Regions from separate parts of the Homo sapiens genome. Here all the other regions are linked to region 5. The links are contacts of gene promoters, found by promoter capture Hi-C in blood cells and fetal thymus (Javierre and others, 2016). All regions are on one chromosome and are shown on one strand. The core of a region is centred on a gene start or on the middle of the fragment in contact, and the rest is flanking DNA. Distances in the headings are between cores, read along the strand shown. Region 1 has its middle 6.1 kb from the start of AP4E1. Region 2 has its middle 71 kb from the start of SPPL2A. Region 3 overlaps AP4E1 (adaptor related protein complex 4 subunit epsilon 1). Region 4 has its middle 54 kb from the start of SPPL2A. Region 5 holds the start of TRPM7 (transient receptor potential cation channel subfamily M member 7). Region 6 overlaps LOC124903490 (a long non-coding RNA gene).

Evidence for each region. Contacts are between HindIII fragments. The CHiCAGO score rates a contact against its expected background, and 5 or more counts as called.
Region 1: a contact is called between a fragment that was not itself captured here and the fragment with the promoter of TRPM7 in region 5, in 17 of 17 cell types (activated CD4 T cells, naive CD4 T cells, total CD8 T cells and 14 more). The highest score is 18.2, in activated CD4 T cells.
Region 2: a fragment that was not itself captured here is called in contact with the fragment with the promoter of TRPM7 in region 5 in 2 of 17 cell types (erythroblasts and megakaryocytes); the score reaches 6.3 in erythroblasts.
Region 3: a contact is called between a fragment that was not itself captured here and the fragment with the promoter of TRPM7 in region 5, in 12 of 17 cell types (M1 macrophages, total CD8 T cells, M0 macrophages and 9 more). The highest score is 12.4, in M1 macrophages.
Region 4: a fragment that was not itself captured here is called in contact with the fragment with the promoter of TRPM7 in region 5 in 4 of 17 cell types (erythroblasts, activated CD4 T cells, megakaryocytes and 1 more); the score reaches 6.6 in erythroblasts.
Region 6: a contact is called between a fragment that was not itself captured here and the fragment with the promoter of TRPM7 in region 5, in 2 of 17 cell types (activated CD4 T cells and erythroblasts). The highest score is 5.3, in activated CD4 T cells.

Annotation. Positions count from the first base shown.
Region 1 is chr15:50,900,829-50,904,303 of GRCh38, reverse strand. No RefSeq gene overlaps it. Among named protein-coding and RNA genes, the nearest start is that of AP4E1, 6.1 kb to the left of the region's middle. The HindIII fragment of the contact is 4,281 bases long and covers 1-3,475 here.
Region 2 is chr15:50,834,973-50,838,803 of GRCh38, reverse strand. No RefSeq gene overlaps it. Among named protein-coding and RNA genes, the nearest start is that of SPPL2A, 71 kb to the right of the region's middle. The HindIII fragment of the contact is 1,663 bases long and covers 1,546-3,208 here.
Region 3 is chr15:50,925,100-50,928,954 of GRCh38, reverse strand. It overlaps AP4E1 (adaptor related protein complex 4 subunit epsilon 1), which reads right to left. Exons shown (of 21, transcript NM_007347.5): 5 at 3,736-3,855. Among named protein-coding and RNA genes, the nearest start is that of AP4E1, 18 kb to the right of the region's middle. The HindIII fragment of the contact is 1,988 bases long and covers 978-2,965 here.
Region 4 is chr15:50,817,467-50,821,359 of GRCh38, reverse strand. No RefSeq gene overlaps it. Among named protein-coding and RNA genes, the nearest start is that of SPPL2A, 54 kb to the right of the region's middle. The HindIII fragment of the contact is 1,171 bases long and covers 912-2,082 here.
Region 5 is chr15:50,685,344-50,689,284 of GRCh38, reverse strand. TRPM7 (transient receptor potential cation channel subfamily M member 7) reads left to right here and starts at 2,488. Exons shown (of 39, transcript NM_017672.6): 1 at 2,488-2,754. The coding sequence starts at 2,752. LOC128092252 reads left to right here and starts at 2,568. Exons shown (of 4, transcript NM_001414947.1): 1 at 2,568-2,754. The coding sequence starts at 2,568. It also overlaps the pseudogene RN7SL354P. RefSeq lists enhancers at 2,097-2,276, 2,587-3,006, 2,536-3,400 and a silencer at 2,367-2,536. The HindIII fragment of the contact is 16,005 bases long and covers 1-3,941 here.
Region 6 is chr15:50,855,560-50,859,084 of GRCh38, reverse strand. The region is part of intron 1 of LOC124903490 (a long non-coding RNA gene); the gene reads left to right. Among named protein-coding and RNA genes, the nearest start is that of AP4E1, 51 kb to the left of the region's middle. The HindIII fragment of the contact is 2,009 bases long and covers 1,225-3,233 here.

The DNA.
Region 1 (3,475 bases), core at 109-2,608, 220 kb before region 5:
TTGATGAAGCAGTAAGAATTCTTAATTTTATTAAATTTCAGTCTTTGAGTGCACTTTTTAAAAAATTTTTTTTGTGACAAAATGGGAAGTACTCATAAAGTACAACCTCATAAAGTATAAACTCTTAAATCCTGAGGCTTTTCTTTTGGCCGGGTGTGGTGGCTCAGGCCTATAATCCCAGCACTTTGGGAGGCTGAGGCGGGCAGAGCACCTGAGGTCAGGGGTTCGAAACCAGCCTGGCCAACGTGGTGAAACCCCATCTCTACTAAAAATGCAAAATTACCTGCGCGTGGTGGCACATGCCTGTAATCCCAGCTACTTGGGAGGCTGAGGCAGGAGAATCACTTGAACCCGGGAGGCGGAGGTTGCAGTGAGCTGAGATCGTGCCATTGCACTTCAACCTGGGCAACAAGAGCGAAACTCCGTCTCAAAAAAAAAAAAAAGAAAAAGAAAAAATTCTTGAGGCATAACTGAGATAAGATAGTTTCTCAAGGAAAAGCATTTGTATCATTGTTTAACTTGAAAGCTGAACCGGCCTGGCACAGTGGCTCATGCTTGTAATGCCAGCACTTTGGGAGGCCAAGGCGGGGGGATCACGAGGTCAGGAGATCAATACCATCCTAGTTAACACGGTGCAAAACCCGTCTCTACCAAAAATACAAAAAATTAGCCGGGCGTGGTGGCGGGCGCCTGTAGTCCCAGCGATTCTGGAGGCTGAGGCAGGAGAATGGCGTGAACCTGGGAGGCGGAGCTTGCAGTGAGCCTAGATCACGCCACTGCACTCCAGCCTGGGCGACAGAGTGAGACTCCGTCTCAAAAAAAGAAAAGAGAAGGCCGGGCGCGGTGGCTCACGCCTGTAATCCCAGCACTTTGGGAGGCCGAGACGGACGGATCACGAGGTCAGGAGATCGAGACCATCCTGGCTAACACGGTGAAACCCCGTCTCTACTAAAAATACAAAAATTAGCCGGGCATGGTGGCGCGCGCCTGTAGTCCCAGCTACACGGGAGGCTGAGGCAGGAGAATGGCGTGAACCCGGGAGGCGGAGCTTGCAGTGAGTCGAGATCGCGCCACTGTACTCCATCCTGGGCGACAGAGCGAAACTACGTCTCAGAAAAAAAAAAGAAAAGAGAAAGCTGAACCAACCACTTTTTTTCATGGAACACCATTTTTAGTTGAAAGCGATAAACAGTAGTTTTCTTGAAAATGAACAGTGAGTCTTTCAGTTGTAGGGAAAGAAAAAAATCTTTTTCTCTTACCCTTCTAAGTTCTTGGCTGGGTCCCCTGTGAAAAAAACAAGCAAGTTTATTAAAATGTATGGAGCATATAACATAGGAATAACTAGAAATGAGTAATTCAAAGAAGGTAAAACTCTGGCTTATATAGCATCTTTAACAAAATACAATAAACTTATAGAGAAATGACAGGACAAAGGAAAGCAGTTTTAGTCTTCCAGGGCTGGGAATCTTGGGGAAGGAAAATATATGGAAAGAAACTAATGAAGTAAGGTTTGTGTGCACATTCCTCTGGTGCCACCTCTGGGCTAGTAAGATGGTAGAGTTGCCTCCAGTAAAGGAAGTTGTATCCTGCCTTTAAACAGAAAAGGAGGAGGGTAGAGAGAGTGTTTCCTGCCTTTGCTGCTGCTTAATTGCCTTCAGCTCAAAATAATATTCATGTCAAATAGGAATATTTTGGGGTGACAGAGTCTGGTTTCCTTCACACTTCAAGGAAGATAACTGACAATATTTGTTGCCACTGATAAATTCAGGCTTTCAAGTGAAAACTAAAATTTTGAAAAATGTTTGTCTACTACAATTTTAATAATTTCCAGATACATAAAGACCATTCTGATAAATTGGTGATTATGTTAATGAATTTTTTATATTGTATAATTAAATGTGCCAACATTTGAAAGATCTCCATAACTCAATGAACCAATATTTTCCAAATGATCAATGCACAATGTTATAAAATTATGTACCAGCAAAACATCCACTTAAAGCAAATAGTGTAACCATAATAGGGCCCTTCGCCCAATATGTGACAAGTTAATATGCCAAGACACCAGGTTGTAGCAGAGAAAGAGGTTTAATTGTAGGGCTGCCAGATGAGGAGATGGGAGAAAACCTCAAATCCATTTCCCCAAGGAATGTGGAGCTAGGGATTTTAAAGGTTTGGGAGTAGGCCAAAGTGTAGAGATTGATCAGAGTGCAGGGTGAAGCCATGGGACAGGGAGATGTTATTGATTCCGTTCCTCTCTGGGGGTTTTTAAACTGGTTGGCATCAGCTGTTCAGGTGGAATTCAGGATCTGCTTAAGCAGTTCTTAAACCCTTTATGATTCTAATGTCAGAGATCCTATCTATCTTAAAAGCCCTGGCCAGGCGCGGTGGCTCACATCTGTAATCCTAGCACTTTGGGAGTCCGTGCCAAGGCAGACAGATCACTTGAGGTCAGGAGTTTGAGGCCAGCCAGGCCAACATGGTGAAACCCCGTCTCTACCAAAAACACAAAAATTAGTTGAGTGGGCCAGGTGCGGTGGTTCATGCCTGTAATCCCAGCACTTTGGGCCAAGGCGGGCAAATCACCTGAGGTCAGGAGTTCGAGATCAGCCTGGCCAACATGGTGAAACCCTGTCTCTACTAAAAATACAAAAATCAGCTAGGCGTGGTGGCAGGTGCCTGTAATCGCAGCTATTCGGGAGGCTGAGGCAGGAGAATCGCTTGAACCCAGGAGGCAGAGGTTGCAGTGAGCCAAGATTGCATCACTGCATTCCAGCCTGGGTGACAGAGAGAGACTCCATCTCAAAAAAAAAAAAAAAAAAAAGCCTAATGTCAGAAATTCTGTCAATAGGAACAATGGGAACGCAAATGGTCTCTATGTAGTGTAACCTGACTTTTGGTTACAAGGAAGTGGGTCAGAGTGCAGCCTGATTAATGCTCAATTATAACTATATTTCCTTCCAGAATTCTTGTTAACCCTTTGAGGACAGCTTCAATAGAATTATGATTTCAATGTAACCTAGTAAAAAAGGTTCCCTGATGGTTTCAGATTCCACATTGCAACAACTTTTTAAAAACTACTTACTGCTTTTAGTGTTGGATCTAAGAAGAATATCTACAATTATTTGAAAGGGATTTTTCCCCAACTACTTTCTGTATGTGACCAGGTTTTCCTCATAAACTTCAACAAAAAAGAAAAACCTTGTGGTAGGCTGATAATGACTTCCAAAGATGTCCGTGTTCTAATCCCTGGAATTTGTGTTACCTCGTGGTAAAACTTTTACAGATGAGATGAAGTTAAGGATCTTTAGGTAAAGAGATTATCATGGATTACCTGAGTGGATTATTGATGTTATCTCAAGCATCCTGTTAAGAGAGAAGGGAGATTAGCCACCCAACACAGAAGTGAAATTGATGTGAAGATGAAGGCAGAGATTAGTGTGATGCCTCTAAAAGTCAAGCAATGCCAGCAGTT
Region 2 (3,831 bases), core at 1,128-3,627, 150 kb before region 5:
GCCAGGTGCGGTGGCTCAAGCCTGTAATCCTAACACTTTGGGAGGCTGAGACGGACGGATTGCCTGAGCTCAGGAGTTAGAGACCAGCCTGAGCAACATGGTGAAACCCTGTCTCTACTAAAAATACAAAAAATTAGCAGGACATAGTGGCATGTGCCTGTAATCCCAGCCACTCGGGAGGCTGAGGGATGAGAATTGCTTGAACTTGGGAGGCAGAGGTTGCAGTGAGCTGAGATCGTGCCACTGCACTCCAGCCTGGGCAACAGAGCAAGACTCTGTCTCTAAATTAATTAATTAATTAATTAATTTAATTAAAATAAAAAAATTGATAATCTTGATAATCTCGACTTTATTAAAATTAAAAAATTTCTGCTGCATGAAAAACAGTGTCAAGAAAATGAGAAGCCACAAACCAGGAGAAAATATTTGCAAAAGACACATATATAAAGAACTTTTAAAGCTCAACAACAAGAAAACAACCCAATTTAAAAAGGAGTAAAAGATTTAAACAGATTCCTCACCAAAGAAGATACACAGATGACAAGGAAGCATATGAAAAGGTATTCAACATTATATATCCTTAGGAAATTATGAATTAAAACAACAAATATATACCATTACACACCTATTATAATGGCCAAAACACAACACCAAACTCTGGATGTGGAGCAACAGGAACTCTCCTTCATTGCTGGTGGGAATGCAAAATGGTATGGCCACTTTGGAAAAGAATTCAGCAGTTTCTTAGAAAACTAAATGTACTCTTAACTGTACAATTCAGCAATCATGCTCCATGGTATTTACCCAAAGGAAGTGAAAGCTTATGTTCACACAAAAACTTGTATGCGGATGTTTATAACAGCTTTATTCATAATTGCCAAAACTTGGAAGCAACCAAGCTGTCCTTCAGTAGGTAATGGATAAATTGTTGTAATTCCAAACAATGAATTTTTCAGCACTTTAAGAAGTGAGCTATCAAGCCACTAAAAGACATGGAGGAAACTTAAATGCATATTATTAGGTGAGTGCAAAAGTAATTGCGGTTTTTGCATTGTTGGAATTTGCCGTTTGATATTAGAATACATTCTTAAATAAATGTGGTTATGTTATACATCATTTTAATGGGAATTTCTTGCTTTATGTTTTTGTTTTTGTTTTTTGCTAATGACTTATTATGTGCTCTTTGTTTTATGTTTATTTTAAAGTATGGAAATGATGTTAGACAAAAAGCAAATTCAAGTGATTTTCTTTTTTGAGTTCGAAATGGGTCATATAGCAGGGAAGAAGACTCTCAACATCAACAATGCATTTGGCCCAGGAACTGCTAACGAAAGTACAGTGCAGTGGTGATTCAAGAAGTTTTGCAAGGGAGAACCTTGAACATGAGGAGCGTCGTCACTGGCCATTGGAAGTTGACAACTACCAATGGAGAGCAATCATCAAAGTTGATCCTCTTACACCTACAAGAGAAGTTGCCGAAGAACTCAACATCGACCATTCTGTGGTTGTTCGGCATTTGATGCAAATTGGAAAGGTGAAAAAGCTTGATAAGTGGGTGCCTCATGAGCTGAGCGAAAATCAAAAAAATCATTTTAAAGTGTCATCTTCTCTTATCCTATGCAACAATGAACCATTTCTTGATCGGATTGTGACATGCATTGAAAAGTAGATTTTATACAACGACCAGTGACGACCAGCTCAGTGGCTGCGCTGAGAAAAAGTCCCAAAGCAACTCCTAAGCCAAACTTGCACCATAAAAAGGTCATGGTCACTGTTTGGTGGTCTGCTACCGGTCTAATCCACTACAGCTTTCAAATTCCCGGCGAAACCATTACATCTGAGAATTATGCTCAGCAAATCAATGAGATGCACCGAAAACTGCAATGCTTGCAGCTGGCATTGGACAACAGAAAGGACTCAACTCTTCTCCATGACAATGCCCCCCGTACATTGCACAACCAATGCTTCAAAAGTTGAACGAATTGGGCTACAAAGTTTTGCCTAGTCTTCCATATTCACCTAACCTCTCACCAACCGACTACCACTTCTTCAAGCATCTGGACAACTTTTTGCGGGGAAAATGCTTCCACAGCCAGCAGGATGCAGAAAATGCTTTCCAAGAGTTTGTTGAATCCCAAAGCACGGATTTTACACTACAGGAATAAACAAAATTATTTCTCGTTGGCAAAAATGTATTGATTGTAATAATTCCCATTTTGATTAATAAAGATGTGTTTCAGCCTAGGTATAATGATTCAAAATTCACGGTCCCAAACCACAATTACTTTTGCACCAACTTAATACTAAGAAAAAAAAAGCCAGTCTGAACAGGATATATACTGTATAATTCCAACTATGTGATATTCTGAAAAAGGTAAAACTTTGGAGACAGTAAAAAGATCAGGAGTTGCAGGGAGGGAACGATAATAGGCAGAGCACAAAAGATTTTTAGGGTAGTGAAACTCTTCTGTATGATACTACAATTGTGGATACCTGTCATTATATATTCATCAAAACCCATGGAAGGTACAACACCAAGAATGAATCCTAATGTAAACTAAGGATTTACAGTGAAAATGATGTGTCAGTGCAGGTTCATTGATTGTAACAAATGTACTCCTGTGGTGTAGGATGTCCATAGTGGGTGAGGTTATACAGGTATGGGAATTGGTAGCAGATTAATATCTTTTTTTTTTTTTTGAGACGGAGTCCCGCTCTTGTTGCCTAAGCTGGAGTGCAATGGTGCAATCTCGGCTCACTGCAACCTCCACTTCCCAGGTTCAAGCGATTCTCCTGCCTCAGCCTCCCAAGTAACTGGGATTACAGGTGCTTACCACCACGCCTGGCTAATTTTTGTATTTTCAGTAGAGACCGGGTTTCACCATGTTGGTTAAGCTGGTCTCAAACTCCTGACTTCTGGTGATCCGCCTGCCTTAGCCTCCCAAAGTGCTGGGATTACAAGACTGAGCCACCATGCCCAGCCATGGATTAATATATTTGAAGTGCTGCAGAAAAACAATGGTAAGGTTATAACATCTATCTATCTATCTATCTATCTATCTATCTATCTATCTATCTATCAATAATGAAGTCAAAATAAAGACTTCTTCAGACATTTAAAGCAGGCAGTTTACTGTCTCAGTTACTCATTAAAAAAATAACTAAACTTTCTTATTTGGGAAAAATAAAATAAAAACATAGAGAAGCTTCTATTGGCCAAATATAGGAAAAAAGTGAACATCAAAAGGAATATTGGGCCTGGGCACAGTGGCTCACGTCCATAATCCCAGCACTCTGGGAGGCTGAGGCAGACTGATCACTTGAGCCCAGGAGTACGAAACTGGCCTAGGCAACATGGTGAAACTCCATCTCTACAAAAAAACACAAAAGTTAGCCAGGTGTGGCACATGCCTGTAGTCCCAGCTACTCGGGAGGCTGAGGTGGAAGGATCACTTGAGCCCAGGAAACGGAGGCTATAGTGAGCCATGATCATGCCACTTCACTGCAGCCTGGGAGACAGAGTGAGACCTTGTCTCAAAACAACAACAACAACAAAAAGGATATTGACTACATTTGATTTAAACATACTGAATATATAAAAATCCATGAGTTCACAGTGTTACAGAATCAAAAAGTAAAAGTAAACAAGGAAAAGCAAATACACACCCATGCAAACACTGGACACTATTAAAACCTAGGGTACAATACTTACTTTGAAAAATTGGCAATTAAAAATAATTGAGAATTAATCCTGCCTTTCCTGAGTGAAGTATACTTCAGAGTAACCAAATACTTAATGAGGGAAAGTTCTTTATAAAAGAACTCCAGTTA
Region 3 (3,855 bases), core at 722-3,221, 240 kb before region 5:
TTTGAAAGATTATAGGCCAGATGATTTCAAAATACTGGCTCATTACCTTAATTTACAAAGAAAGAGATAACTATACATTTGTGATTAATTTATTTATTCTAATATACCAAATTATAAAAAGTGGTTACCTCTAGGAAGTAAGGTCTCAAAACTTTAACTGCCCGTGTTATATATTTATCTAGTTAGGGAATTTTTTTTTGTAACAAGCATATATTACTTTTGAGATTAAAAAAAAAAAAACATGAAAAACAAATTTCTTAATTCTCTAATTCCATTTTTAAAAGACGTATCTCTAAAAATTGAAAAAAAAAGTCAACAGTAAGTTTAAGTAATAGGTAATTTCAGCTAGTAATATTAAAATCTTTTTATTAATATTAAAAATCTTTGGCCTGTAATCCCAGCACTTTGGGAGGCTGAGGTGGGTGGATCACTTGAGGCCAGGAGTTCAAAACCAGCCTGGCCAACATGGCGAAACCCTGTCTCTACTAAAAATACAAAAATTAGCCAGGTGTGGTGGTGCACACCTGTAGTTCCAGTTACTTGGGTGGCTGAGGCACAAGAATCGCTTGAACCTGGGAGGCAGAAGTTGCAGTGAGCCAAGGTTGTGCCACTGCACTCCAACCTGGTGACAGAGTAAGACTCAGTCTCAAATTAAAAAGGAAAGAAAAGAAAAAAAACTCGTTAACATTCTCACCCTAAAATAGTAGCTTTCTATGTTTCTTTTTTATATATATATATCACTGGATAGCAGACTCCAAATATTCTGGGGGACAGAGGGGAGGAATACAAGGACACACATGGAATAAAAAGATGTTATTCCTCTCTTTGCCCAGTTCATCTGTTTCAAAACCTCATGATAATAAAGAGAAAAGTATATACTAGTTTTGCACTTCATCTGTAGCAGATAACATCTAGCACACAGAAGCAAAAATAAAGAAATGCCATCCTATGTTCATGATGTAGTTTCCAAGGAAGCTTCTTCCTTGTTAGAAATTCTCTCTCTTGTCTATTTCTACATATCTGTTATTTGCAGACTATGCTGGCAGTGCTCAGAACAGCAGCAAACATCACAAAAGTGAAGTATTTACTTTTAGGGTTCCTTAACAGATATTTCTGTCGTAGAATCTCAAGACTGAGACTATTCAGTGCAATCCTTTGTGTTCCACTCAAGAACTCCTTTTATAAGATTCTTAATAAGTGGTCATACAAATTCCATTAATAAACAACTCTTATCTTCCTAGGCAAGCTATGCCATAACGGAAAACTCTTCACAAAAAAAAAAAGAAAAGAAAAGAAAGGCAGATTAATAACAGATTTACTGTTAGTATTAATACTGTGGTGAATGCAAGCCACGTCACAGTGTATTGCCATTGCGTGTTAACTGATATTAATTCTGGGGGAGAATAGGTAAATGAAGTGAGGAAAAAAAAAAAAAAAACTCTGAATAGGCCCAGGAGTTCACAGGCCTGGCCTCAAGTGGTGGTACTAACATAAGACGAGAGACCTAGATTCAGGCTCTGGGGTTGGTATGCTGAAATACAACCAGGGATTCAAAAGTTGAATTCAAGCCTTATTTCAAATATTCTTTGTGACATCTACTGGCTTACCTATAGCTCTGCCTCATATTCGTCAGCTCTTTACTCCAGAGCATGGGGCTGAGTATGGCCATAACTGCAAAAGCTGAGTTTCAAAAAGTCTAAACTCTAGCCAGGACTTGAAATTAGACTAAACACAAAGCAATAAAGAAAAAAATTGAAACGGGACCTTTCAATTCTCAGAAGGATTTCATACAAATGGTCAGTAAGTAAGGTCACCACAAAAGTAGTGGTAAGGAAAAGTTAAGCAAAAATATGCTGCTTTTATAATCAGATCACCTTATAAATCTCAAAAAAGCAAATATTTCCAATAATTAATTGTCCATAATCATCCTTCGTTCTAAACACAGATATGATATACAATACATAAAAAGTCTGAAAGACCTATGAAGTTATTCTGTAATTCTTAGTAAAAGCTATCATTTTAGCTGGAAGATTCATGATTCAATATTTCTTAAAGTATACAAGTTGGCCGGGCATGGTGGCTCACGCCTGTAAGCCCAGCACTTTGGGAGGCCAAGACAGGTGGATCACGAGGTCAGGAGTTCGAGACCAGCTTGGCCTATATGGTGAAACACTGTCTCTACTAAAACATTAGCCAGGCATAGTGGCGGGCGCCTGTAGTTCCAACTACTCAGGAGGCTGAGGCAGAAGAATAGCTTGAACCCGGGAGGCAGAGGTTGCAGTGAGCCAAGATCACACCACTGCACTCCAGCCTGGGCGACCGAGCAAGACTCCATCTCAAAAAAAAAAAAGAATACAAGCTATAAAACAACATTTTGCAATCTCAGAACATTAAAAATACTGATTTAAAGTATGTAAAATAAATGTTGTATGAGTAACAAAAAAATCTTCATCAAGAATATATAACTGACATACCATAATCACAATGATTGCAAACCTTTTCCAACTTTAAAAATTATGGGCCAGGCGCAGTGGCTCACATGTGTAATCTCAGCACTTTGGGAGGCCGAGGCAGGTGAATCACAAGGTCAGGAGTTCAAGATCAGCCGGGCCAAGATGGTGAAACCCTGCCTCCACTAAAAATACAAAAAATTAGCTGGGCATGGTGGCGTGTTCCTGTAATTCCAGCTACTCAGGAGGCTGAGGCAGAGAACTGCTTAAACCTGGGAGGTGGAGCGTGCAGTGAGCCGAGATCACTCCACCGCACTCCAGCCTAGGCAACAGAGTGAGACTCTGTCTCAAAAAAATTAATTAATTAATTAATTAAAATTATGACATAAAGGGGCTTGGTCAAAAACAAAATATTAATAATTCAAATACAGTGAAAAGTAAGTCAGTCTGATAAGGAGACAGTTAAGGAAATTTACAAGAGAAGATTAGCAAAATACTACAAAGTAAATTAAGCTTGGAAACATTCTGCTGTAAAATAGGATTAAAATGCTGTGGTTTTGATATAAAAAGCATCTTCCCGGGCCGGGCATGGTGGTTCACACCTGTAATCCCAGCACTTTGGGAGGCCGAGGCAGGTGGATCACCTGAGGTCAGGAGTTCGAGACCAGCCTGGCCAAACCCAGTTTCTATTAAAAAAAAAAAAAAAAATTAGTCGGGCATGGTGGCAGGCACCTGTAATCCTAGCTACATGGGAGGCTGAGGCAGGAGAATTGCTTGAACCCGGGAGGCAGAGGTTGCAGTGAGCCAAGTTCATGCCATTGCACTCCAGCCTGGACAACGGAGTGAGACTCTGTCTCAAAAAAAAAAAAAAAGCATCTTCCCACTACACTGAAGCTTTGCATTCACAACACTTGCACAATTTCCATATGTTTTTCATTATTTCACTTTATCCCCAAAACAACTTTGGTAGAACTAAGGAGCTTCAACCAACCCCATATAGCCAAGGAAAAACAAGACCACTGCTCATTAGTGGTAGAAATGGGAGGCAAGCCAAGGATTCCTGGATACTAGGCCTCACTGTCTCTTAGTCTAACTTTAGAAAGCTGTCTAACATTTCCCTAAACCCACATAAAAATAAAGATGATCCTATTGAAGATTTTTGTATTATTCCTAGCAGTCAAATAATCTCTATCCTGGTAGCACTGAAGTTGTAATAAATTTTCTAGCATAAACTTCTGTTTTGAAATATATGGCATAGATGCCTATCCCAAAAGAATTTACTTACTTAGAATGTTGAAGTTTATCTTCTATTAATGGAAGAACAGCTGGAATCATTTCGCAGGGGAAAATCTGGCTAACAACAGTCAGTGCCATACACACTTCTACTAGGTTAGTGCTCTGCAGA
Region 4 (3,893 bases), core at 248-2,747, 130 kb before region 5:
TGTTAACTGTGGCTTTCTATCTGTTTGTCTTTCCATACTGGGAAGTTCTTAGCAATTAGAGCCATCAAAACAAAATTGGAAAATGTTTTCTTTATTCAGAACAGGTAACTTTAGGACACAATAAAATCTAAAGACATCCTATCAAAAGTGACAGCTATATCATAGTAGAAGCATTAGCTTGGCATTTATAGATTGGGTTCAAGTAGAAAATTGGTCTAAAGATCAAAACTTTCTGAGATCATTTGGAATAAAAGCTAATCCTCACATTGAAATTAATGCAATGAATAATGGCCTTTTGTTGAAGCACTGATGAGGTCACGTCTAGTCCAAGCAGAAGCCTGTCAATCTCATATTGTGGTCTACGTTTAATCGGGCCTTTGTTTTCAAGTTCACAACCACTAGAAATTCAATCTAAGATTTACACATTGCTAACTCTAACGTCATCAATTTACATGTTTTAAGTTGCATCTGCTGGTCCGTAGGGCGTGAGGACTTTTAGGTCTGCATAAAGTTCATCAAAATTTTCTCAACAATATTTATGGTTTTTTGTTTATTTATTTATTCATTTATTGATTGATTGAGAAAGGGTCTCACTCTGTCACCCAGGCTGGAGTGCAATGGTGCAATTTCAGCTCACCGCAACCTCCACCTCCCGGGTTCAAGTGATTCTCCTACCTCAGTCTCCTGAGTAGCTAGGATTACAGGCATGTGCCACCACACCTGGCTAATTTTTGTATTTTTTTTTAGTAGAGACAGGGTTTCACCATGTTGGCCAGGCTGGTCTCTAACTCCTGGCCTCAAGTGATCAGCCCGCCTTGGCCTCCCAAAGTGCTCAGATTATAGGCGTGAGCCACCGCACCCGGCCTCAACAATATTTGATATGTATCAAAAACATGTAAACTAAGAAAGCTTTGAGGGCATAATTATATATTCTTAAAATTAGGAAAAAAAATCAACACATGAGATTACAGTGAAATCCATACTCAAATCCTGCTGATAAATTGTTACAATCCTTTTGGAAAGTAATATGGCAACATAGGTGGCAAAAACCACAATGTTTTTCTTGAAACCCTAAGGCCACTTCTAGGAGTTTATGCTGTAGAACTAATTCAACAGAAGATTAAAACTATGTACATGAAGTTATTCATATGCAAGACTGAAAAATCAGAAACAAGTTAAATGTCTTTGTAAGTTACAATCTTTTAAGTTTTCAATTACCTTAACTAATGGTGGCTTATTGAGAGATAAAATGGATTATGAAGACTGACACATAGTTTCAGAACTAGAATCTCTTAAGGTATAAGACATTTTGTTGCACTGTCATCATCAAAGTAATATTAACTTCTCAATCCCTCTTCAGGTACTCTGCTTTTAAAGAGACTTGGATATTCTTTAACTCTGCTTCCACTATTCCTACTACTACCAAACTATTTCCCTTATGTCTCAACTTGAAATGTCTTCAAAAAGAGTACCTGATTATTTGGGGCATTTACTATGCAATATTGAGGGGTCTTTGCGGGGCAGAGCTTGCCCACAAGACTATCATAGATCTCTGACCACGGTCCAATGTCCACAGCCCTGATCCAATTAGCAGTACCAAAGATAGTAAGGTGACACAGTACATTTTTTTCTGTCTTCAGATTACCTGATTTTTGCAATCTGAAAGATAAAATAAAAGGTTTTTAAAATGAATATTACTTAGTTATACACTTAATACAAGTTGTCCTTAATTGTCCATTCTTTTGATAAAAACATGACCATACTCTGTTCAGCATGATTCATATTTGCAGACAGATTTCTAAAATTAGGAAAGGTCATTGCCCAGCAAAGAGATACTTCATCATGTAACCATTTCTGAGATCCTATGATAAGAAAATATAGTGCATTCATTTCTCATTTCCTGCACCTTAATAAATCTGTTCCTGTTATCTTTTCCTAAAACTGTAGCTGTAGAAAAACATAAATACTTATCAAATAGGCAGAGAAAGTGCTGAGAGATTTACTCATGCATGTTTTTATCAGAAAAAAAAATGTCTAGAAAAGAGTTGCCCATGTTACACATGAACAATATAAAATGAAGCTTTATGAAAAACATAAGCATTAACAAGATAAAAGAAACAGCAACTATGCAAATAAACTAAGCAAAGAAAGCAGCAGTAAGGAAAGGAGGATGGCACACCAAATACTATCTAAACATAACACAGAGAATAGAAAAATGTAAGAGCTGTTTGTTTTATCATGTTTGTGATAAAATAACTTATTACAAAATGATAAAATAACATAATAAAAGGTGTAAAAGAGAGATTGCATGGCCGGGCATGGTGGCTCATGCCTGTAATCCCAGCACTTTGGGAGGCCGAGGCGGGCAGATCACCTGAGGTCGGGAGTTTGTGACCAGCCTGACCAACATGGAGAAACCCCATCTCTACTGAAAACACAAAATTAGCCGGGCGTGGTGGCGCATGCCTGTAATCCCAGCTACTAGGGAGGCTGAGGCAGGAGAATCACTTGAACCTGGGAGGCAGAGGTTGCGGTGAACCGAGATCGCACCATTGCACTCCAGCCTGGGCAACAAGAGCAAAACTCCATCTCAAAAAAAATTAAAAATAAAAATAAGTAAAATAAGAGATTGCAGAATCTAGGAAACAAAACTATATTAATTAGGAGCCAGAAACCATACTACTTACTTTAACAGAAAGAGTTCAAGAACTGCTAACTAGGTAATCAAGAACTGACAAGGGAAAAATAAAACACTAAGATTATAGATAGATATACAGATTATAGACAGATTATAAAAAGGAGCTTCTATCCCTGGGGCTTGAGGAATAAAGGGAAAAGGCTAGAATAATTAAAACTTAGAAGCTTGGAGGAGAAGCCCAAAAAAACTGAGTACCAGATCTCTGAAAAGAACGCGCTGCTTAGCTGGTGCTATGGTCTTTTTGCTCAGAGAAGGGCCTCCATGGAATTACGACCAAAATCTCTAAGGAAGTGGTGCTGACCAGCTGATATTAGGTATTTGAGGGGGTGTGATGAGGTTAGTTCTGCAAGTATTAAGCAAACTGTGACTGTAACCTGGACTGTATAGCTGCTCTGCTGCTACTGGATCAAACTTACTCAGCCAGAGTTAAAAATGAGGCTGGGGTACTGCTATACAGAGGAGGAATCCAACAGGAAAGAAGGAAGTCCATCCTCCCTCCTCCAGCCTTTCACTCTCTCTCTCTGATATTCCCTATTGGAAACACCTCAGAGAGCAACTGGCAAAGCAGAAATGTGGTTTGCATAGTCCCAGCTCCAGCATCATAAAACAACATTAGGAAAGGGTGGATGTGGCACTGAGAGATTATATTTAATAACTGGCCAAAGGACCAAAACAATGCTATTACAGAATTAATGAACAAATCTGGAACAGCAAAAATCAAAACAAAAAAAGCAACACAAAAAAACAGATCTAAGGACAAGAGAGAAAGAAAGGAAAGAAGGAAGGAAGATCACTGCTACCGGTGATCCAACTCACACAGCTTTTGTTAAGGCACACTTGATTCTAACACTAAATTGTTTGAACTTCTTTTCACTGTTTTCTTTGACAGTGGCCTCTCCTGTCATGCTGGTGGACACAATAGCTAGCAGAATAGCCATAGTTATGACCTGGCCCTGAATAGCCAAAATAGGCCATATTGGACATCAGAAACTTAGAATCAACCTCTGTTATCAATGGAGATACAGAAAAAAGTAAAACATGTGGTCTCTGAAAATAAACTATGTAGTGCTTAGCAAATGTAACATTCTGCATTGTCAGTGATTAATTTTATTGATACCTTGGAATATATTGCAAAAATTGTTCTGGCCAGGCGTGGTGGCTCACACCTGTAGTCCCAGCACTTTGGAGGCCGAGG
Region 5 (3,941 bases), core at 1,239-3,738:
TATTAGCCAGGATGGTCTCGATCTCCTGACCTTGTGATCTGCCCGCCTCGGCCTCCCAAAGTGCTGGGATTACTGGCGTGATATTTTTTTAAGAGACGTGGTCTTGCTACGTAGTCCAGGCTTGAGTGCGGTGGCTATACACAGGCACTATCCAACTACTGATCAGCAGGAATTCTGACCTGCTCAATTTCTGTCCTGGGTTGATTCACCCCTCCTTAGGCAATCTGGTGGTCCCTTGCTCCCAGGAAGTCACTACGTTGATGCTGAACTTAGCACAGCCACCCAATCCGCATAGCACACTACAGCCCAGAACTGGGCTCACATGAGCCTTCTGCCTCAACCTCTGGAGTAGCTGGGAATACAGACATGGGCCACTGTGCCTGACTCAATACATATTTTTTGAATGAATAAATTCATTCTCCAGAATTGATTGCTGATTGAAAGTCAGCATCTGTGAATTTCAAGGCTGGTTGATCACTTGAAAATTAAGGAATTTATTTTGATTAGTTCAATTAAGGATAAATCCTGTTCCCCATTTCTTTTCTTTTTCTTTTTTTTTTTTTTTTTTTGAGACGAAGTCCTGCTCTTGTCCCCCAGGCTGGAGTGAGATGGCGCGATCTCGGCTCACTGCAACCTCTGCCTCCTGGGTTCAAGCGATTCTTCTGCCTCGGCCCCCCGAGTAGCTGTGATTACAGGCGCCTGCCACCATGCCCAGCTAATTTTTGTATTTTTAGTAGAGACGGGGTTTCACCGTGTTGGCCAGGCTGGTCTAGAACTCCTGACCTCAGGTGATCCACCCGCCTCGGCCTCCCAAAGTGCTGGGATTACAAGCATGAGCCACCGCGCCCACCCAATCCTGTTCCCCATTTCTAACTCTAAATTTTCCAATTTACCAAAGAGTTCTGGCAAGTGCCAAGGAGCTCATCTTGTTTCATTTCTACACCATCCAACTAAGGAGCGAAGCATTCGTGAGTACAAAAAGACCAGAGTTACAAAGTTCTAACGAAACAAAGCACTCTAATCTCATTTTATTTTGATTTTCCAGTTTGTCTGCCTCTACCTTCTAGATTATAAACTCCCTACAGGCAGGAAATGTGTAGGCCCAACTGAAATCCAGAAGATAAACATTTATTGACTGCATGCATAAATTAGTCAAGATGCCTTCCCCAAGGCTGACAATTTAGTGTGACACATATATTAAAACATTTTTAAGTCTTGGTTCTGCTGGACCTGCCAGATGGGGAAGAAATACACAATACCTGAAGATTGTTCACAAGCTGGGGGAACCAGTGGGTGGATTAGTTTTTTTTCTGAGAGAAGATCCTACTTCAGTGAATTGTGGGTCATAATGTTTGAGAGGCAATAATTATGCTGAATGAAAGAAGTTAGACGGAAAAAAAAGGTGCGTGCTGTATGATTCCCGTATATAAAACTTTAGCATGTGCAAACTTATCTGTACTGAAAGTAGATCTGTAGTTGATAAGGGACGTGATGGAGAGGGACGAGATGAAGGGATTATGAAGGGGGGGGAGGAAACTTAGAGGTGAATACGTTCATTTGATTATGGTGATTTCATGGGTGCACAGGTATGTCAAAACTTATCAAATTGGACATTTAAATACGTGCAGTTTGTCATGTCAATTATTTTAAAATAAAGTCGTTTTTAAAAAAGAGATAAGACAGTCAGATCCCTGAGGGTCAGATTGAGGAACTCTCGAAGACTTCAGGAGCAGAAAGATGTTAAAGCAGTTTTAAGAAAATTAAACTGATTGTGGTCTTCCCAGTAGATAAGGAATAACATTTAGTAAACCATTGCTAATAGCCAAACCTTGGCATGTGTGACAGCAAAATAAATGGAAAGGTGGATAGGTACATATTACATCAAGGGAACAACCCAGTTTTTGGTGCAGAAGGTGTGGTGTATGCGTGTATGTGGGTGAGTATCTCTGGAGGGAAAAAGACAGTCCCATAGTTAAACAAAGAAGAATATTTACCGGCAGCAACAGGAGAGGCTAGAGAAAGAACATGATTGGGGTAAAAAGATGATTCTGCATTTTGGACGAGGAGAGAGTAACATTTAAAGCCTCTACTCGCTCTGAAGCACACAGAGTGTGTTGCGACACTCGAGTTTGCTGGAGCGAGTCGGCACAGGCCAGGCCTAGTTAGCGGAATGAGCCCACACAGCAACTCCAGACTGGATCCGCAAGCCTTGAACCTTAACCCTCAACCTCCGATTCCCCAAGTTCCACTCTCGTAGCTGAGGCTGAAGTTTGTCTAAGTCCCGCCTAGGTACCCAACGGAGATACGGCGTGAACACCCCACCACTTTCTGGGAACCCAGAGGCGGTCGGCGTGGCGGCGCGAACCTGCCCAGCGCGTGCGCGCGGCGCGCAGGGAGGCGGCCTGGAATCGAGGGAGCGCGCGCCCTTCACGTGACCCGACCCGCGGGCGGCGACGCACGCGCCGCGCCGCGCCGCTCACGTGGTCCGTCCCCAGCCCCGTCGCCGGCGGAGGCGGGCGCGGGCGCGTCCCTGTGGCCAGTCACCCGGAGGAGTTGGTCGCACAATTATGAAAGACTCGGCTTCTGCTGCTAGCGCCGGAGCTGAGTTAGTTCTGAGAAGGTTTCCCTGGGCGTTCCTTGTCCGGCGGCCTCTGCTGCCGCCTCCGGAGACGCTTCCCGATAGATGGCTACAGGCCGCGGAGGAGGAGGAGGTGGAGTTGCTGCCCTTCCGGAGTCCGCCCCGTGAGGAGAATGGTACTGGACCCACGCAGGCCCGGGCGGGGAATGGTTCTGGGGTTGCGGGCGGTAAAGGAGAGACTTGGCAGGCAAGTGTGTGGGGAGCCGCGTTCCATGCGGCGAAGGACCCTCGAATTGCCTTGAGGCTTCCGGATTTGTCCTCTCGGGACGGGTGTGCAGTTCGTTCTGGGGTGAGGGGCGGGAGCAGGTAGCAAGTTAGAGGCGACACCTCTTCGCGGGAATCCCCTGAGCCGAGACTCGGCTCCCAGCGAGGGCCTCTCCAGGCGGCAGAGGCGCGAGCCCGGGACTACCTGGCTGGGCTCAGCTGAGCGGCCTCAGCGCGCCCGACGCAGGGCTCAGCCTACAAGCTCCGCATCTCCTGGGAGCACGGTCCTCCTGGCGCCAGTTGCTGGCAGATAAGGGAACCAAATGCTCTGCTCAAGTTTTACATGGAAAAAAGGGAGGGAGGGCTAGAAGGGTGCAAAAAGGGGGTAGAGGACACGGGTTTGGAGCAGTGCCTTGTTTGCTGTGCAGCGGATACTCTACAGGTACATTTCCTTTTTGGAACCAAAAGGGAGGGATTTGACAATATTGATGGTAGATCTTTTTTCTTTAGCAAGAATTAAGGATTTTGGTGGGTGGGGGGAGGCTTCTGTGGGGACCAAGACAATGTACTGTCAGTCAGGATTTAAGTCGAACTACCGCATCCCTTGCCCCAGAGAACAGTTGATCGTGTTTTAAACCGAAAGGTGCGGAATGGAGAGAGGGAGGCGGTGCATTGCAGCTTCCGATAGAGCTTTTTATTTTTGGATATCAGGAACCAATTTTGAAGATTTCTTAAGAAAGTCATTTACATCAGGGACATGAAGAGCAAAGTAGGTATTTTTGGTCAGTACTTGAATTTGATAGGCTTTATGCAAACAACTCTCCCTCTGCTGGAGTCTGGCAAGTTTGCTTTTCACTGGACGCTAATTCAAGTGCCATACAAAACTAAAATAAGAGTTTTACTTATAACACAAATGTAGTAATACTTTGAATAAATAATGTGTCTTTCACTATTTTCCACCTTATTCTTTTTTGTTTGTTTGTTTTGAGACAGGGTCTCACTCTGTCGCCCAGGCTGGAGTGAAGTGGCGCGATCTCCGCTCACTGCAACATCCGCCTCCGGGATTCAGGCGATTCTCCTGCCTCAGGCTCCCGAGTAG
Region 6 (3,525 bases), core at 980-3,479, 170 kb before region 5:
TGATCGTGAATTTAAAGTGTGTCTGCTCAGCATGGTTGCATGTTTTCCCCCAACACTTTTAAGCACAAACTAGGCAGAGAGTTGGTTTTAACCATACCTAGGATATTGCCAGGCACATACTGTACTCTGAAAGGAGAGAGAGGCAAATAAGTTGGTGTATGCAAGGACTGCAAATGGAAGCTGGCTAAGGAGGGGCATTCAGGACACAATGGCCATGAGGGGTAGTGGAAGGTGTCAGGGTCAATGGACTCTAGGTCCCCATGGAATTCAGGAATGCTTTGAGCAAATCTTGGCATTACACTTCTTTTTTTTTTTTTTTTTCTTTTTTTGATAGAGTCTCACTCTGTTGCCAAGCTGGAGTGCAGTGATGTGATCTCGGCTCACTGCAACCTCTGCCTCCCGGGTTCAAGTGATTCTCCTGCCTCAGCCTCCCAAGTAGCTGGGACTACAGATGCATACCACCATGCCCAGCTAATTTTTGTATTTTTAGTAGAGACAGAGTTTCACCATGTTGACCAGGATGGTCTTATCTCTTGAACTCGTGGTCCGCCTGCCTTGGCCTCCCAAAGTGCTGGGATTACAATTCTTTTTTTAAAAGGTGCTTAAGAATGGGACATTTCCTTGCCATCTTCCCACATCACCTTCTTTATTCTCACTTTTTTTATTCACCTTTGCACAGTTTAAATAGTAAGCTTATGAGGTAGAGTGTTGCTAGCTTCTTTGCTTCTATTGAGGTTTGGGGGGCAGGGGACAGGACATCGCTCAGAGTGCAAACTCATAATTCTCGCAAATAGTTAAATGGTGTTATTTGGAAGTCCTTTAGTATTATCCAGATTTGGCTTAGAAATAGGATTATGCTGCTGAACTTTATTTTTCTTCTTAATGTACAAAGAGCTCTCTTAACTCAGACATTCCGGTGCTTTGTTGGAATTTTCTATGTAATGCAGCCTATTACAGAGTAATTTTGAGGGGAGTTGTAACTTGACCTCTAACTTGGGGCAGGATCCTAATAAAATAGAAGTCTCCTGACCAGAGCTTCTTGCTCAGGTTCCTAACAGGAATGTCTTCTCTCCAGAATGGCTGCAGGAGATCAAATGACAGAGGCAGTTTTATCAGTTTGTTGTGCTGGTCTTTCACCTGCCTGAAAACTATCTTTAAATGATTGCTTTCCAAGTGCAATGACACAGCAGTCTGTTTTCTAGAGACCTGAAGTTCAAATAAGCTTCTTGTTTGCCCTGGTGATTCTGGAGGTGATTTAAGGTAGAAAGAGCAGTTCTCAAAGACACAGAAAGAGCCAAAAATAATATAATTTGTAAGATTTTGAAACTCAAAAAAGTGAAAATGACCCACTAAGTCCACCATCCCTGCCTTGAATAGTCTCCATGTTCATCTTCCCACTTCTACACAGGATTGCAGAGAAGCTGTTCTAAAAGAGAGCTTTCTGCCCATTTAGAAATTAGGTCCAAAACTCTGTCAATGTCTCAAGAATTTTCTAAAGTTATATTTATCTTTATGCAGATTTACTCCTCCACACTTGTACTCATTCTTTCATTGGCTACAGAGGGATATTCCCAGTTTGGAAAGTAATTCATTTCTTGTTGCTACGACAAACAAACCTAATGGTTAAATTATTTTCTTACCACAAGAAAAATTAATCATGATAAACTAGAGCATAAGTCTGGATTTTTTGGTTTTTTGAACCTATGGAAAACATAGCCTTGTGAAAGGTGACTTGAATTCTCCCGGAGTTCAACTCCTTCATCTTCCTGGCATTGTGGAATAGTGGAAAGAGAAAGAGAGCTGAAGTCAGAAGCCTCAAATCCCAACTCTGCTTTTATAAGCTGCATCATCACAGTTTATATTATTCTTAATTTATAGCTCCAGTCTCTTCATCTGCAAAATGTTAAGAAGCATGCCTATATTTGTTACCAGATAATCAGGTAACATATGAAAACTACTTTGTAAACAGTAAAACATTGTAAAAAGTGTCTTTATTTGTAGAGTTCACTCCAAGATGCCTCATGTTAACTTGTTTGGGGTCCTCCCTGAGCCCCTCTCCATCTTCCCTCTGCTCTTTCTTTCCCCAGCTTCCTCTCTCATTTCCCTAGTGTTCAGCTTTCCTTCATGGAATGTTATTGTAGCAGAGTTCCCAGAAATGACACAAAAACTAAAAACACAGTCAAAGAAGAAAGTAATAACAGTGTACAGAGACCTTCCTTCGGCAAAACACATTTCTTAGAGGGTGCTATAAGACTGGGCAAAGGGGGAGCAAGAGGAAAAAGCAGATTGGAGAAGCCAGTGACAGGAAAGCAGGAGATGGGGAGAAGGAAGAGTAAAGGAGCCAGGAAAGAGTCAACTAGAAAGGGAGAGAACGCACATCACTCCCAAGTTTCTGAGCCCGGTCGGGAAAGGAGGATAGAGGGCTGCATAATGCCAATAAATCATAAAAGTACATAAAAGGGAGTTTGTACAGAAAAGAGCAAAGTAAGCACAACAGAACAAAATTCTTTTCCAGGAGCGGGTATCAGGTAGCATTGCATGTAGGCACTGTGATAAACTAAAGTTATTGTGCAGTATAAACTGACAGGAAGAGTTTAATAAGAGTATGTGATTCCTACAGCCAATTACTAGAAAGAAAATGTAATCACTGTTATATTTGTATTGCAGGTAAAATTATACTATGACCAATAAAATAGAGAAAAGATAGGCCGGGCACGGTGGCTCACGCCTGTAATCCCAGCACTTTGGGAGGCTGAGGCGGGTGGATCACAAGGTCAGGAGATCAAGACCATCCTGGCTAACACAGTGAAACCCTGTCTCTACTAAAAATACAAAACATTAGCCAAGCGTGGTGGTGGGTGCCTGTAGTCCCAGCTACTCGGGAGGCTGAGGCAGGAGAATGGTGTGAACCCAGGAGGCGGAGCTTGCAGTGAGCTGAGATTGTGCCACTGCACTCTAGCCTGGGTGGCAGAGCAAGACTCTGTCTCAAAAAAAAAAAAAAAAAAAAAAAAAATATATATATATATATATATGTATATATGTGTATATATATATATATGTATATATATATATGTATATATATATGTATATATATATATGTATATATATATATATATAGAGAGAGAGAGAGAGAGAGAGAGAAAAGATTTGCTTAAAATGCAAATGCTCTGTGCACATGAGGGAACATGTGTAGGAAATTAATTTAGAGCAACACACATTCCCATCTACAAGCTTCCCGCCTCCGTGAAATAAAGGGGCACTCTGCAAAAGCTCAGAAGTGTGTTTTTGGTAGATACCAGGTGTGGAAATTGAAAGGATGAAGGGGCTGGAGGAGGAATCACCACCAAGACTTGGGCTGGGATTCACAGAAGGAAGAGTGGCCTACACGGAACAGCAATCCTGTTAAGGACGAGACTCTTTAGTGGAATTTCTTGAGTAGGGTAATTGCTAATACCTAGTCTACTTTGTAATTAAAGAGAGCCACATAAGCCCACTTGCAGACCTAGGCTCCTGTGTAAAGATTAC